Linked DNA regions of Homo sapiens: region 2 is linked to region 1. The links are contacts of gene promoters, found by promoter capture Hi-C in human tissues and cell types (Jung and others, 2019). All regions are on one chromosome and are shown on one strand. Each heading gives the region's core, a stretch centred on a gene start or on the middle of the fragment in contact. The rest is flanking DNA. Distances are from core to core; before and after follow the strand shown. Region 1 holds the start of RHOT1 (ras homolog family member T1). Region 2 overlaps RHBDL3 (rhomboid like 3).

Evidence for each region. The method cuts DNA at HindIII sites, captures the fragments that hold promoters and counts their contacts. A contact is called where the count stands out against the background at its distance.
Region 2: a fragment that was not itself captured here is called in contact with the fragment with the promoter of RHOT1 in region 1 in 1 of the 25 tissues and cell types used here (dorsolateral prefrontal cortex).

Annotation. Positions count from the first base shown.
Region 1 is chr17:32,141,016-32,147,642 of GRCh38, reverse strand. RHOT1 (ras homolog family member T1) reads right to left here and starts at 5,141. Exons shown (of 20, transcript NM_001033566.3): 1 at 4,914-5,141. The coding sequence starts at 4,950. It overlaps LOC105371730 (a long non-coding RNA gene), which reads left to right and starts at 4,508. Exons shown (of 2, transcript NR_136413.1): 1 at 4,508-4,618; 2 at 4,930-6,417. RefSeq lists silencers at 4,861-4,920, 4,951-5,180 and an enhancer at 5,641-5,810. The HindIII fragment of the contact is 2,047 bases long and covers 4,133-6,179 here.
Region 2 is chr17:32,287,644-32,294,270 of GRCh38, reverse strand. It overlaps RHBDL3 (rhomboid like 3), which reads right to left. Exons shown (of 9, transcript NM_138328.3): 4 at 5,255-5,479. Among named protein-coding and RNA genes, the nearest start is that of RHBDL3, 25 kb to the right of the region's middle. RefSeq lists an enhancer at 4,288-4,935. The HindIII fragment of the contact is 6,058 bases long and covers 985-6,627 here.

The DNA of each region.
Region 1 (6,627 bases), core at 3,892-6,391:
TCACCATGTCAGTCAGGCTGGTGTCGAACTCTTGACCTTTGAGCCACCCACCTTGGCCTCCCAAAGTGTGGGATTACAGGTGTGAGCCACCGCGCCCGGCCAGTTTAATCTTTAAATATCATTCCAACAAAGACCAGAATGGAAAGCAATATGGCTTTTTTTTTTAATAGTTAAAAAAAAGTAGAGGCAGGGTCTCACTATGTTGCCCAGGCCAATCTCAAACTCCTGGGGTCAAGCAAGTCTCCCGCCTTAACCTCTCAAGTGCTGGGATTAGCAATATGGTTTTAAAATGATCTTAGGCCAGGCATAGTGGTGCATGACTGTGATCCCAGCACTTCAGGAGGCCAAGGTGGGTGGATCATTTGAGGTCAGGAGTTCAAAACCAGCCTGGCCAACATGGTGAAACCCTGTCTCTACTAAAAATACAAAAATTAGCCAGGCGTGGTGGTATGCGCCTGTAATCCCAGTTACTTGGGAGGCTGAGGCAGGAGAATCGCTTGAACCTGAGAGGCTGATGCTGTAACGAGCCGAGATTGTGCCACTGCACTGCAGCCTGGGTGACAGGGTGAGACTCTGCCTCAAAAAAATAAAAAAAGAGCAGGCCAGGCATGGTGGTTCACACCTATAATCCCAGTATTTGGGAGGCCGAGGTGGGTGGATCACTTGAGGTCAGCAGTTCCAGACCAGCCTGGCCAACACAGTGAAACCCTCTCTACTAAAAAAAAAAAAAAAAAAAAAAAAAATTTACAAAAATTAGCCAGACATGGTGGTGCATGCCTGTCATCCCAGCTACTTGGGAGGCTGAGGTTACAGTGAGCCAAGATGGCACCACTGTACTCCAGCCTGGGCGACAGAGCAAGACCCTGTCTCAAAAAAATAATAATAGGCCGGGCGCGGTGGCTCACTCCTGTAATCCCAGCACTTTGGGAGGCCGAGGAAGGCAGATCATGAAGTCAGGAGATCGAGACCATCCTGCCTAACATGGTGAAACCCCATCTCTACTAAAAATACAAAAAAAAAAAAAAAAAAATTAGCCGGGCGTGGTGGTGGGCACCTGTAGTCCCAGCTACTCGGGAGACTGAGGCAGGAGACTGGCCTGAACCTGGGAGGTGGAGCTTGCAGTGAGCCGAGATCGCGCCACTGCACTCCAGCCTGGGCGACAAAGCGAGACTCCATCTCAAAAAAAATAAAATAAAAATAATAATAATAATAATACAGAAAAATGATCAAATTTTTATGACAAAGAGGAGTGGTTTGGAAAACAAGGAAAGTCTAAACAAACTGAACTAGCTTGAACTCATTCATTCTTTTAAGAAATACCTGAGTGCCTCTTTTGTGCCAGGTCTGTTCTAGCCACTGGGGATACAGCAAGAAGGAAGACAAATCCCCTGCCTTCATGATGATTCTTTTCTAGCCCAAGAGACAGGACAAAAAATGTACAAATATACATGGTTATGGGGATAATGCCCAGGTCAGAGCCTTCTTATAGAGAGAGCAATGAAGGAGAGAGTAGCATAAAAGGGAAGTAAGGGCTAGATTGTGGAGGGCCTTACAGGACTGCATTAAAAAGTTTGGACTTTATTCTAAGTGAAAGTAGAAATCACTGGATGATATACATCTATTTTCTGAGACAGATTCTCACCCTGTCAACCAGGCTGGAGTGCAGGGGTGCAGTCATGACCCACAGCAGCCCCGAACTCCTGGGCTCAGGTGATTCTCCCACCTCAGCCTCTCAAGTAGCTGGAACTGCAGGTGCACGCCACTTCACCCAGCTAATTTTTTGTATTTTTTGTAGAGATGAGGGTTCGTCATGTTGCCCAGGCTGGTCTCGAACTCCTGACCTCAAGTGATCCACCTGCCTCGGCCTCCCAAAGTGCTGAGATAATAGGCATGAGCCACCACACCTGGCTCATTAGATGATTTTTAAGGTGCATAGCAGAATCTGAGATATTTTCTAAATATGAATCTGTATATATTCAGGACAGCTTGAATCTATACTTCAGGGTAAAAAAATTAAAAATAAAAAAATAAAAATGAATCTGCCTGCTCCACGGAAAATGGAGGAAAGCAGGAGCAGAAAGACTGGTTAAGGGAGATATTGCAAAAGTCAAGGCCAAAGCCAGTGGAATTTTGAAGTAGTTTGGCAGAGGTTGCCATGATAATCAGAGTTAGACAAACCAGTTAAAGATCTGCCAGATTCATTTTAAAAGAAGATAACAGTTCCATTTTCTTAAGGAACTTAACTAGTAGAAAACAAATATATCTCAATTTAATTTAAAAAGAAGACTCCATTAAAATGAAAACTATCCTGTTTACTATTATCAATATATATATATATTTTTTGAGACAGAGTCTCACTCTGTCCCCCAGGTTGGAATGCAGTGGTGTGATCTCAGCTCACTGCGACCTCCATCTCCTGGGTGAAAGCCATTCTCCTGCCTTAGCCTCCTGAGTAGCTGGGATTACAGGTGCGTGCTGCCACAGCTGACTAATTATTGTATTGTTAGTAGAGACTGGGTTTCGTCATGTTGGTCAGTTTCCTGGTCTCAAACTCCTGACCTCAGGTGATCTGCCCACTTTGGCCTCCCAAAGTGTTGGGGTTACAGGCATGAGCTACTGTGCCCAGCCATTAAAAATTAATTTTTTCTTTAAGAGACAGTCTTGCTCTGTCACCTGGGCTGAAGTGCAGTGGTGTGATCATGGCTCACTGCAACCTCGATTTTCTGGGTTCAAGCAATTCTCTCATCTCAGCCTCCCCAGTAGCTAGGACTACAGGTGCACACCACCATGCCTAGCTAATAGTGTTGTGGTTTTTTTTTTTTGAGGCGGGGTCTCACTATGTTGCCCAGGCTGGTCTCAAACTCCTGCGTTCAAGCAATCCTCCTGCCTCAGCCTCCCAAAGTGCTGGGATTACAGGAGTGAGCCACTGTGCCCAGCCATTAATATTTAAATTTTTTGTAGAGACAGGATCTCACTACATTGCCCAGGTTGGTCTCAAACTCCTTGGCCTCAAGTGATCCTCCTGCCTCAGCCTCCCAGAGTGCTTGGAATACAGGTATAAGCCACCTCACCCAGCTGTGTGGGAGCATTATTAAAGGTTTTTTTTCAGACAGAGTCTTGCTCTGCTGCCCAGGCTGGCATGTCTCAGCTCACTGCAACCTCCTCCTCCAGGGTTCAAGTGATTCTCCTGCTTCAGCCTCCAGAGTAGCTGGGACTACAGGTGTGTGCCACCACACCCGGCTAATTTTCGTATTTTTAGTAGAGACGGGGTTTCACCATGTTGGCCAGGCTCGTCTCGAACTCCTGACCTCAAGTGATCTGCCTGCCTTGGCCTCCCAAAGTGCTGGGATTACAGGCATGAGCCACAGTGCCTGTAATCCCAGGCACTGCACTCCAGCCTCGGTGACAGAGCGAGACTCTGTCTCAAAACAACAACAACAACAAACTATTTCATCATATATTTAAGGATCAGTTTTTTAAGCAAGTCGTCTACTCACTTTCCCTACCTTGCTCCAAAAGCATAAGCATGAATTATATGTTAAATAACACCTTCCTGAACCTTGTCAAGGAAGTCCATGAAAAATACAGATTAAGATATAGTTATAAATAAAAATAAAAATTTACAACTGCAAATCAAAAAGTAAACTATGGCTGGCTAAGCTTACTCCTAAATTCTAATTCTAAAGGAAGATTTCTCCAAACAGCAGGTGGATGAAATTTCAATGAACTCAAAGAACACTACAGAAGAGGGTAAAAACGTGTTAACTTTCTTCCTTGGGATTCCATCACGGTGACCCTGAGGGGTTACCAAGAATGAAATAATGGTTTAAAACAGAATGCTTCGAAACAGCAATGGCAGACTATTAACGAATGTATTAACTCTTTAAAACAAACAATCCAGTTATCCCTGGCCCACTTTCTTATTTTAGTCCTAGCAACTGAGTTACATAACTTGCAGAGTGAAATCAAGAAGTCCCCGCTGTTGCGTCCTCATGTCAGTGAACAGAGGGAACTCTCCTTTATTATATTTTCAAAAGGTGAAATGTATGAAATTTCTGGGTGGGGGGAGATATCAAATGTCTGTGTGCCTGTGGTTATTAATAAGTTAACTACGAAGTAACTATGGAATAAATAATGCTTAAAAAGAGGGCAAAGATTACGCTTTAGGGTAACAACAATTGGACCCTCCCCAGATAATTCTAATTCATTGAGCGCTTGCATAACTCGAAGTTGAGTAAAAATTTTTGATGAAATATCTCGAGTACGAGGAGTTAGTCCAATGCAAAGTACAAGTACTGCTAAAAAGGATCCGGCCCTTTCCACTACTCATATCTTAATGTCAATACATAGAGAGAGTGAAGACTGCGAGTGCCAAAAAAATGCAGAAACCTGACCTTGCCCACAAGTCGAATAGTTCTGCACCCCTCCCCCAGCTTCCCCGGGAGCCGGTTCACGCAATCCCTATTGGTCAGTCTGCTTATTCCAGCACCTGCCTGGCAGTGATAAGGGAATCTCCAGAAGACAAGAAGGTCTGAAAGGAGGCGGCCTGGGAAACTGTGAGGCCCAGAAGGACAGGGTTCGAAGAGGAAAAGGAGGAGAGAAGCTTCGGAGGGATGAGGTCGGGCGGTTAGGGCTAATAGGGACATGGCTTGGGAGGACGGCTGGGGAACAGGGAAAGGAGATCTCTGGAGGGCCCAGGTGAGGTGACAGGGTGAGGGCCGCCGGCGGCCAGCCAAAAGAGAAGAGTGAAGGGGCTGGAAGGCCTAGGAACGCGGAGAAAGGCGAGCGGAGCTGTGAGGCGCGAGAAGGGCCGGGGCTGCAAAGGTTGGGGCTGCAGGGGCGACAGGGGCGACAGGGGCTGCAGGGGCAGGGAGGGCAGGGACTCAGGGGCCGGCCAGAGGGTGCGGACTCACGTTCTCCCACCAGCAGGATCCGCACGTCTTTCTTCATGTCGGCGGCTCTCGGGGGCCGGCCTCCGCCCGCACGCACGGAGTGGACTCCTCTCACCAGGAGCACCCACCCCACGGCGCCACCTGCCAGCCTCTTCGGCCGCCGGGGCCCGCCGCGCCGCCCCCTCAGTTGCTTCCCCGCAAGAGAGCCGGGACAGCGCCAGCTCCGCCTCCTCCGGCCCAGCGGGCTGTGGCGGCGGCGGCGGCGGCGGCGGCGGCGGCGGCGGCGGCGGCGGCGGCGGGGACGACGGCACGCGGCGAGGGACACGCGCTTTCGGAACGCGAACGCGCTCTGCGCCGGAACAGCGCTCCCGCTGTCAGGCCGCCGCAGCGCAGGCCCAGGGAGCCTCGCCCACCCTCCTTTGGGCACCGCGACCCCGGAGACACTTGGGCCAGGAATTTGAATGGCGGATTCCCTGGTTTAACCCCGTTTATTTTATAGATAGGGACAGAAATTCCCTGTTCAAAGTCACATAGCTAGAGCTTGGCAGTGACTCAGAGCAGGGATCTTCTCACCAGACCATAAACTCCGGGAGGGCAGCGATCAGCTTGCATGGTTTTCAGCTGCGTCCCCACGTTATTGGATAGGGCCGTCAGAAAATGCTTGATCGAGTAGGGCGACTGGCTCCCAGGATCCGGCGCTTTCCACTCCCCAAAGCCCGTCACCCTAGTTGCTTTTGCCTCTGATGCTTATAAAATACGATTATAAGATTCGTTTTTACGCTGTGTGAACAAGACTCCTTTCTTTATAACCAAACTAAGTGACTTTTTTTCTGTCTATGTAGTTTATTTTATGGCAGGGTTTTCGGACACTCTTCTTTACTCAGGCTTACCCAGCGTAATGCTAGACACGGAGGTGGCACTCGATAATAAACTCTAGATGATTTTTCTAACATTGCCTTAATTTTCTCGTGACCCTCTCCATCTGGAGGAATTTGTTGTTACATGCTTAATGTTTGGTACACAATGGCAAATATATATATATACATACGCGTGCGAATATATATCACATCCCTAATACTTGGCACACAGTGGGAAATATAAAATACATAAATTAATGAGGAAGCACTATCTGTGCATAATGTACATTTTTTCTATCTTAAATATTACACAATAAACACTTAAAGGGAATGAAATGTGCGTAATACCAACTTCCCTTTCTCCTAGGAGAAGTCATGTGGTCTCTTGCAGCAGTTAAGAGTTGCTGGCAAATTTCCTGGGTTTGAATCTAGGCTCCACATAATAGCTCTGTGATCTCGACTAAGTGCTTTTATTTTTACTTCCCTCAGCCACTGTTCCTTCTTCTGTAGCATGGAAATAATGATGATAATACCTTCCTCTTGAGATGGTTGTGAGTAATAAATACTATAATACTTGTCAAGCATTTGGTACAGTGCCAGACTCAGAGCGTGTGCTCTACTGATCTCAGCTATCATTATTATATTAAAAAGTCACTAAAAAGTTGTAATCCACAGATTTTTTGTTTTGTTTTGGTTTTGTTTTGAGACGGAGTCTCGCTCTGTCGCCCAGGCTGGAGTGCAGTGGCGCAATCTCGGCTCACTGCAAGCTCCGCCTCCTGGGTTCACGCCATTCTCCTGCCTCAGCCTCCCGAGTAGCTGGGACTACAGGCGTCCGCCACCACGCCCGGCTAATTTTTTTTTTTTTTTTTTTGTATTTT
Region 2 (6,627 bases), core at 2,764-5,263, 150 kb before region 1:
TTACTAGGTGCACACTGCCCAGGAAACTTCCTGTTGTGCTGACTAGCACTGGGAGTCCCTACAGGAAGTTATCACCTTTCCTTCTCAGAGAAAGAGGGATACCCCACAGCCAGGGCCCAACTGAGTTTTTTTTTTTTTTTTTGAGATGGAGTTTCGCTCTTGTTGTCCAGGCTGGAGTGCAATGGCACAATCTCGGTTCACGGCAACCTCCACCTCCTGGGTTCAAGCGATTCTCCTGCCTCAGCCTCCTGAGTAGCTGGGATTACAGGCATGTGCCACCACGCCTGGCTAATTTTGTATTTTTTAGTAGAGACTGGGTTTCTCCATGTTGGTCAAGCTGGTCTTGAACTCCTGACCTCAGGTGATCCACCCGCCTTGGCCTCCCAAAGTGCTACAATTACAGGCGTGAGCCACTGTGCCTGTCTCAGCTGAGCTTTTAACCACCCCTCACCCACTTCTGTTTGCTTATTTTGTGTCAAATGGCCGCAACATGGTCCTGGGGTCTCTTTGTCCACACTTCCTCCGTGCTAAGCAGAAAGGATTTGGAGGATTTTGAACTTTAATTCCAGTAATAACTCACGCACCCACTTGGGAGATGACGAATTCCACATAGCTTGATTTCTTAAATAACTATAGTGAAATAAACATAAAATTTACCATCTTAATCAGTTTTTTGGGTTTTTTTTTTTTTGAGACAGGGTCTTGCTCTGTCGTCCAGGCTGGAGTGCAATGATAGTCTTGGCTCACTGCAACCTCCGCCTCCCGGGTTCAAGCGATTATCCTACCTCAGCCTCCCAAGTATCTGGGATTACAGGAGTGCACCACCACACCTGGCTGATTTTTGAATTTTTAGTAGAGATGGGGTTTCACCATGTTGGCCAGGCCAGTTTAGAACTCCTAACCTCATGTGACCTGCCCACCTCGGCCTCCCAAAGTGCTGGGATTACAGGCATGAGCCACTGCGCCCGGCCTTAATCAGTTCAGTGGCATTAAATGACATTCATGTTGCTGCGCTACCATCACTACTATCCATCCACAGAACTCTTCATTTGCAAAACTGAAACTCTGTACCCACTGAACAATGACGCCCCACCCCCTCCCTCCAGCCCCTGGCAACCACCATTCTACTTTCTATCTCCATGAATTTGACTACTCTAGCTACCTCATATAAGTGGAATCATACAGTATTTGTCTTTTTGTGTCTGGCTTATTTCACTTGGTATAATATTTTCAAGGTTCATCCATGTTGTGTAGCATGTGTCAGAATGATCCCCCTTTTTTTTGAGACAGGATCTCACTCTGTTGCCCTGGCTAGAATGCAGTGGGGCAGTCTCAGCTTGCAACTTCTACCTCCTGGCTGGTCTTGAACTCCTGGGCTCAAGCGATCTTCCTGCCTCCTCAAGTGCTGAGATTATAGGCATGAGCCACTGCACCCAGCCTTCCCTTCCTTTTTTTTTTTTTTTTTTTTTGAGGTGGAGTCTCGCTCTGTCGCCCAGGCTGGAGTGCAGTGGCGTGATCTCAGCTCACTGCAAACTCTACCTCCCAGGTTCAAGCAATTCTCCTGCCTCAGCCTCCCAAGTAGCTGGGATTAGACGTGTGCCACCATGCCCAGCTAATTTTTGTATTTTTAGTAGAGACAGCATTTCACCATGTTAACCAGGCTATCTCGAACTCCCGACCTCAGGTGATCCACCTTCTTCAGCCTCACAAAGTGCTGGTATTACCAGCGTGAGCCCTCCACTATAAACACAGACCACATTTTGTTTCTCCATTCATCTACCGATGGACACTTGGGTTGCTTCTACCTTTTGACTATTGTGAATAATGCTATTATGAATATGGGTGTATCAATATCTCTTCCAGTCCCTTTCAATTCTTTTGGGATATATTCAGAAGTGGAATTGCTGGATCATATGGTAATTCTATGTTTAATTTTTTGAGGCAACGCCAGACTGTTTTCCATAGCAGCTGCACCATTTTACTTTCCCACCAACAGTGCACAAGGGCTCCAATTTCTCCACATTCTCACCAACATTCCACAGAAGTTGATTTTGCAAACGTGACTGAAGCATACTTGTTTAATCTCTAAAAGGGTATTTAACTCTTTTTTTTTTCTGGGACTCCTTCTAAAATGTATCATTTACGTCCCTGTGTTCTTAATCAGGGCATATGCATAACTGTTTAAGAATATCTCAGGTATGGGCTGGGCACAGTGGCTCACGCCTGTAATCCCAGCACTTTGGGAGGCCGAGGCGGGCAGATCACAAGGTCAGGAGTTTGAGACCAGACTGACCAATGTGGTGAAACCCCGTCTCTACTAAAAATATGAAAATTAGCCGGGCGTGGTGGCAGGCACCTGTAACCCCAGCTACTCAGGAGGCTGAGGCAGGAGAATTGCTTGAACCCAGCCGGCGGAGGTTGCAGTGAGCCAAGATTGCGCCACGGCATTCCAGCCTGGGTGACAGAGGGAGACTCTGTCTAAAAAAAAAAAAAAAAAAAGGAATATCTCAGGTATTGATCTGGGCTATAAGAGTGATTTGTTTCTCCAGCAACCCCAGGAAGATGACATTTTTTGTTTGTTTTTGTTTTGAAATAAGAGTCTTGTTCTGTCACCCAGGCTGGAGTGCAGTGGCACAGTCTCGGCTCACTGCAACCTCTGCCTCCTGAGTTCAGGCAAGTCTCATGTCTCAGCCTCCTGAGTAGCTGGGATTACAGGCACCCACCATGATACACGACTAATTTTTGTATTTTTAGTAGAGACGGGGTTTTACCACGTTGCCCAGGCTGGTCTTGAAATCCTGACCTCAATGACCCACCCGCCTCGGCCTCCCAAGGTGCTGGAATTACAGGCGTGAGCCACTGTGCCCGGCCAGGATAGTGTTTTTGCTCATACACTCAAGGTCCTAAATTCTTTTTTTTTTTTCTTTTTTTCTTTTTTGAGACGGAGTCTTGCTCTGTCGCCCAGGCTGGAGTGCAGTGGCACGATCTTGGCTCACTGCAACCTCCGCCTCCCGGGTTCAAGCAATTCTCCTGCCTCAGCCTCCCCAGTAGCTGGGATTACAGGCACCCACCACCATGCCTGGCTAATTTTTATATTTTTAGTAGAGACAGGGTTTCACCATGTTGGCCAGGCTGGTCTTAAATTCCTAACCTCAAGTGATCCGCCCACCTCGGCCTTTGAAAGTGCTGGGATTACAGGTGTGAGCCACCACGTCCGGCCAATCCCCCAAATTCTTGTATTTCTTTTCCTTTTTTTTTTTTTTTTTTCTTGAGACAGGGTCTCGCTCTGTCACTCAGGCTGGAGTGATGTGGCATGGACACAGCTCACTACAGCCTTGACCTCCTGGGCTGAAGCGATCCTCTTGCCACAGCCTCCCACGTAGCTAGGACCACAGGCATGTACCACCATGCCTGGCTAATTTTTTGATATTTTGTAGAGACAGTCTCACTTTTTTGTCCAGACTCATCTTGAATTCCTGGGCTCAAGAGATCCTCCCACCCTGACCTCCCAAAGTGCTGGCATTACAGGTGTGAACCACTGCACTCAGCCAATTCTTTTATTTCTTTAAGATTCAGGTCTGCTTTAAACTTTTCTTTTGTCACTTCCTTCACTGCCAGGCTGTCGGCTGCTGTTTCTTATTGCTTGCTGGTAGTGGACCCCTTTGTTGCTTTACACCATGTCCCTCCTATTTTCTATTCATTATGAAATCCGAAAGCCAGGTTACCAGAACTGTATAGAAGACAAAAGCCTTGGGCATTGTAGCCCCAGGGCTTCGAGATCGTTATTTCAGCTATTTGATCACTTCCCAGTTTCTTCTAGATTGGTGGTTCGGGTTTACATAGCTGAGGTTCATCTGAACCAATCTGGACACAAAATTGCTCCTCTTGATCAACCTGGGCAAACTGAATTCTCTGGCCCTCAGTTTCTTTATCTGGAAATGGGTACCGATACCTAGACTTCCAGAGTGGCCAGGAGGTTTAAAAGTGATAAACTATACACAAAGAGCCAGCCCCCTGCCCGGCACACACTTAGAGAAGGAAGCTATAATTCGTGTTGGGTTAAAATCTTCTGGGCTCAGCCTGGGAATGGCTTAGGCCCCTGGTAGCTGTATTCTCCTGGGCTCTCTGAGGAGCCGTTCTGTCCACCTAATACCATGAGGGTGGCCTGGTAGCAAATCCTGCTTCCAAGGCATCTCGTTATTATTGGGCCTCAAACAGAAGTTAATAAATAGACCAGCACAGTAAGCGCTTGAAGAACGAGTCCAAGAATATCTCAGAAAAATCGCAACTTCAACATGTACTTGGATGAAGCCATAACAACAAACAGGGGAATGCTGGCCTGCAGACCAGATATTCTGACTTAGAAGAAAAGAAGGATGCCGCGAAGCTTTTGATTAGGCAGGAACTTTACAAGAACATATGCAGAGGCGGTAATTAGGCCCGTGGCTTTGGAAGAGAAACAGCGGAGATCATAAAATCCCAAAGTGAAGCCAAGCATCCATTCAGGAGCTGCAGCTGGGGTGGGCTGCACAGGTTGTTGAGTGGAGGACCCAAAAGAATTGAGTTTTATCACACATGGGCACCAACGCAGCAAGGGGTACCTTTGGATTCTGTTGCATAAGCAGTAGAATTTAGCATAACAATAGGCACAGAGGATTCCCTAAGGGGAGAATGTTCTTTAAAAATGTTAAGCCCATATTTACCTGTTCACACTCCCTCCCAGATGTGTTTGTGTGATGCTTTTGTGTTCAGAAAGCACCAGTAGCCATTCTCTCACTTTAAATAAAGGTGTCCTGGGAGAGGGAAGGCAGGTCTGGTTATTTCTGATTTTCAGGCGGGAAAAAGGAGCAAATGACTGGTCCACATTACCCACCTAGGGAGGAACTAAATAAACTGGCTTTAATGAGTTAGCCTGGCTAGATCTCCCAAGTCAATGAACTTATGACATTGTTTTTATTGCTGTTGTTTTGGGGTGGGTGGGGGGTAGTGGTCCTACGGGGATTTGGCTGCAGTAAGTATTGTTTGAAGTAATAATCTTTGGAATATCTCTTTGCAGTCCACGGTTACAACACTGGTATGCACCGCAACAGAGTCTGATTTGCAATACAACTATTATTTGATCCTCAACCATTGCCCTTCAATGGAAAAGAAATGTCCCTCTTCCCCCATGATCTGTGTGTCATCCTCTTGGCTCCTCTCCCCATACCCGCCACTCCCCAAGGCAGAGCAACCCCCTCCCCACCCTTGTCCTTGCCTCCAGCAGCGTGACTGTGATCATGAACCAGGGTGGGGGGCAGCAGGTGTAGCTGTCATAGTACCACTTGCGGTCAATTTCCCGGGGCAGGGTCTCATAGGCCACATGGCGGATAAGTCGCTGCGAGAGGCTCAGCCCCTTCTCCTCCAGCAGGGCCTTGCTGCTTAGCCTGCGGTTGCCCTGCAGGATGGCTTGGCGGAAGCTGTTGGAACGCTTGTTGCTCATCTGTGCAGGAAATGGAGTGGGGAGAGGGTCAGAGCTGGGGCCCAGCGGAGCTCCCCACCCACTTCCCAGCCAGCATGTTCCTTGCACCAGGCCTGACCCCGCATTTCCCTTTCTCCTATAATTGTTAATAAGAAGCAACATTCACCAAGGTCTTGTTAGGTGTCAGGGGTTATTATTCTCAGCCCTTCACGTCTTTTGGCTCATTTGATGATCACCAGTCTTCCCGTTAGATAAGGACTATTAACATCCCCATTCTATTGGATTAGGAAACTGAGACACCGAGAGCTTTAGGAATCCATCAAGTTCACACTCAGTAAGGCTCCAGAGCCCGTATTTGTGTTCACTATACCTTCCTTCATCTACTCACTCATCATCCATCCATCACAATTTACTGAGCAACTACTAAGTGTCAGGCTCATTACCAGGCACAGGGAGGGATACGGTGGTGCTCAAGACAGATTAGTAACCAGCAATCACAGTTCAGAGTGATGGTTGCTGTGGGAGCACACAAGAGGGAGCCCAATCCAGTCCCAGGGAGGTCAGAGGTCAAGGAAGGCTTCCTGGAGTAGGTGAAGTCTGAGTGAGAATCAAAAGATGAGCAGGAGGTAGCACCCTCAGACACGCTAGCTTGGGAAGAGGCAGGCAGCCCTTGGTTAGATGGGTTTGCAGAGAGGCACCCAGAGCCAAAACCCAAGCTGTGCCTGGGGAAGGTCACCACTCCCGAGGGCCTTCACAGGACCTGGAATGCCCAGCAAGCCCAAAGACTGGCTGCAGAGCTCCACCTGGGGACCAGCTCTATCCTCAGCGGCCTGAAGCTTCTCTGACACATACTGGGTAGAGCTCTGGCAGCCTCACCCAGTGGTCAGCCTGACTCGGAGACCAGAGGTGGCCTTGCTGACTCCTGGCCTCCCGAGGCCTCCGTTACCTCCCACCTGCCTTCCACGGCCAACTGTAGACCCTTCTTACGGGGAGAAGTCCTAGAGATATGGCTCTCCCAAGCCCACACCTCAGCTGTCCCTATGTTTGCTGGTGTGGGGATTATCAGTGTATTCCTGGGACTCTAGGCCCAGCAGTAGACATCAGGCTAAACCCGAAGGCAGGAGCCCTGTGGGCTGGTGAGGTAAACCAGGCCAGACCACGGCACAGGG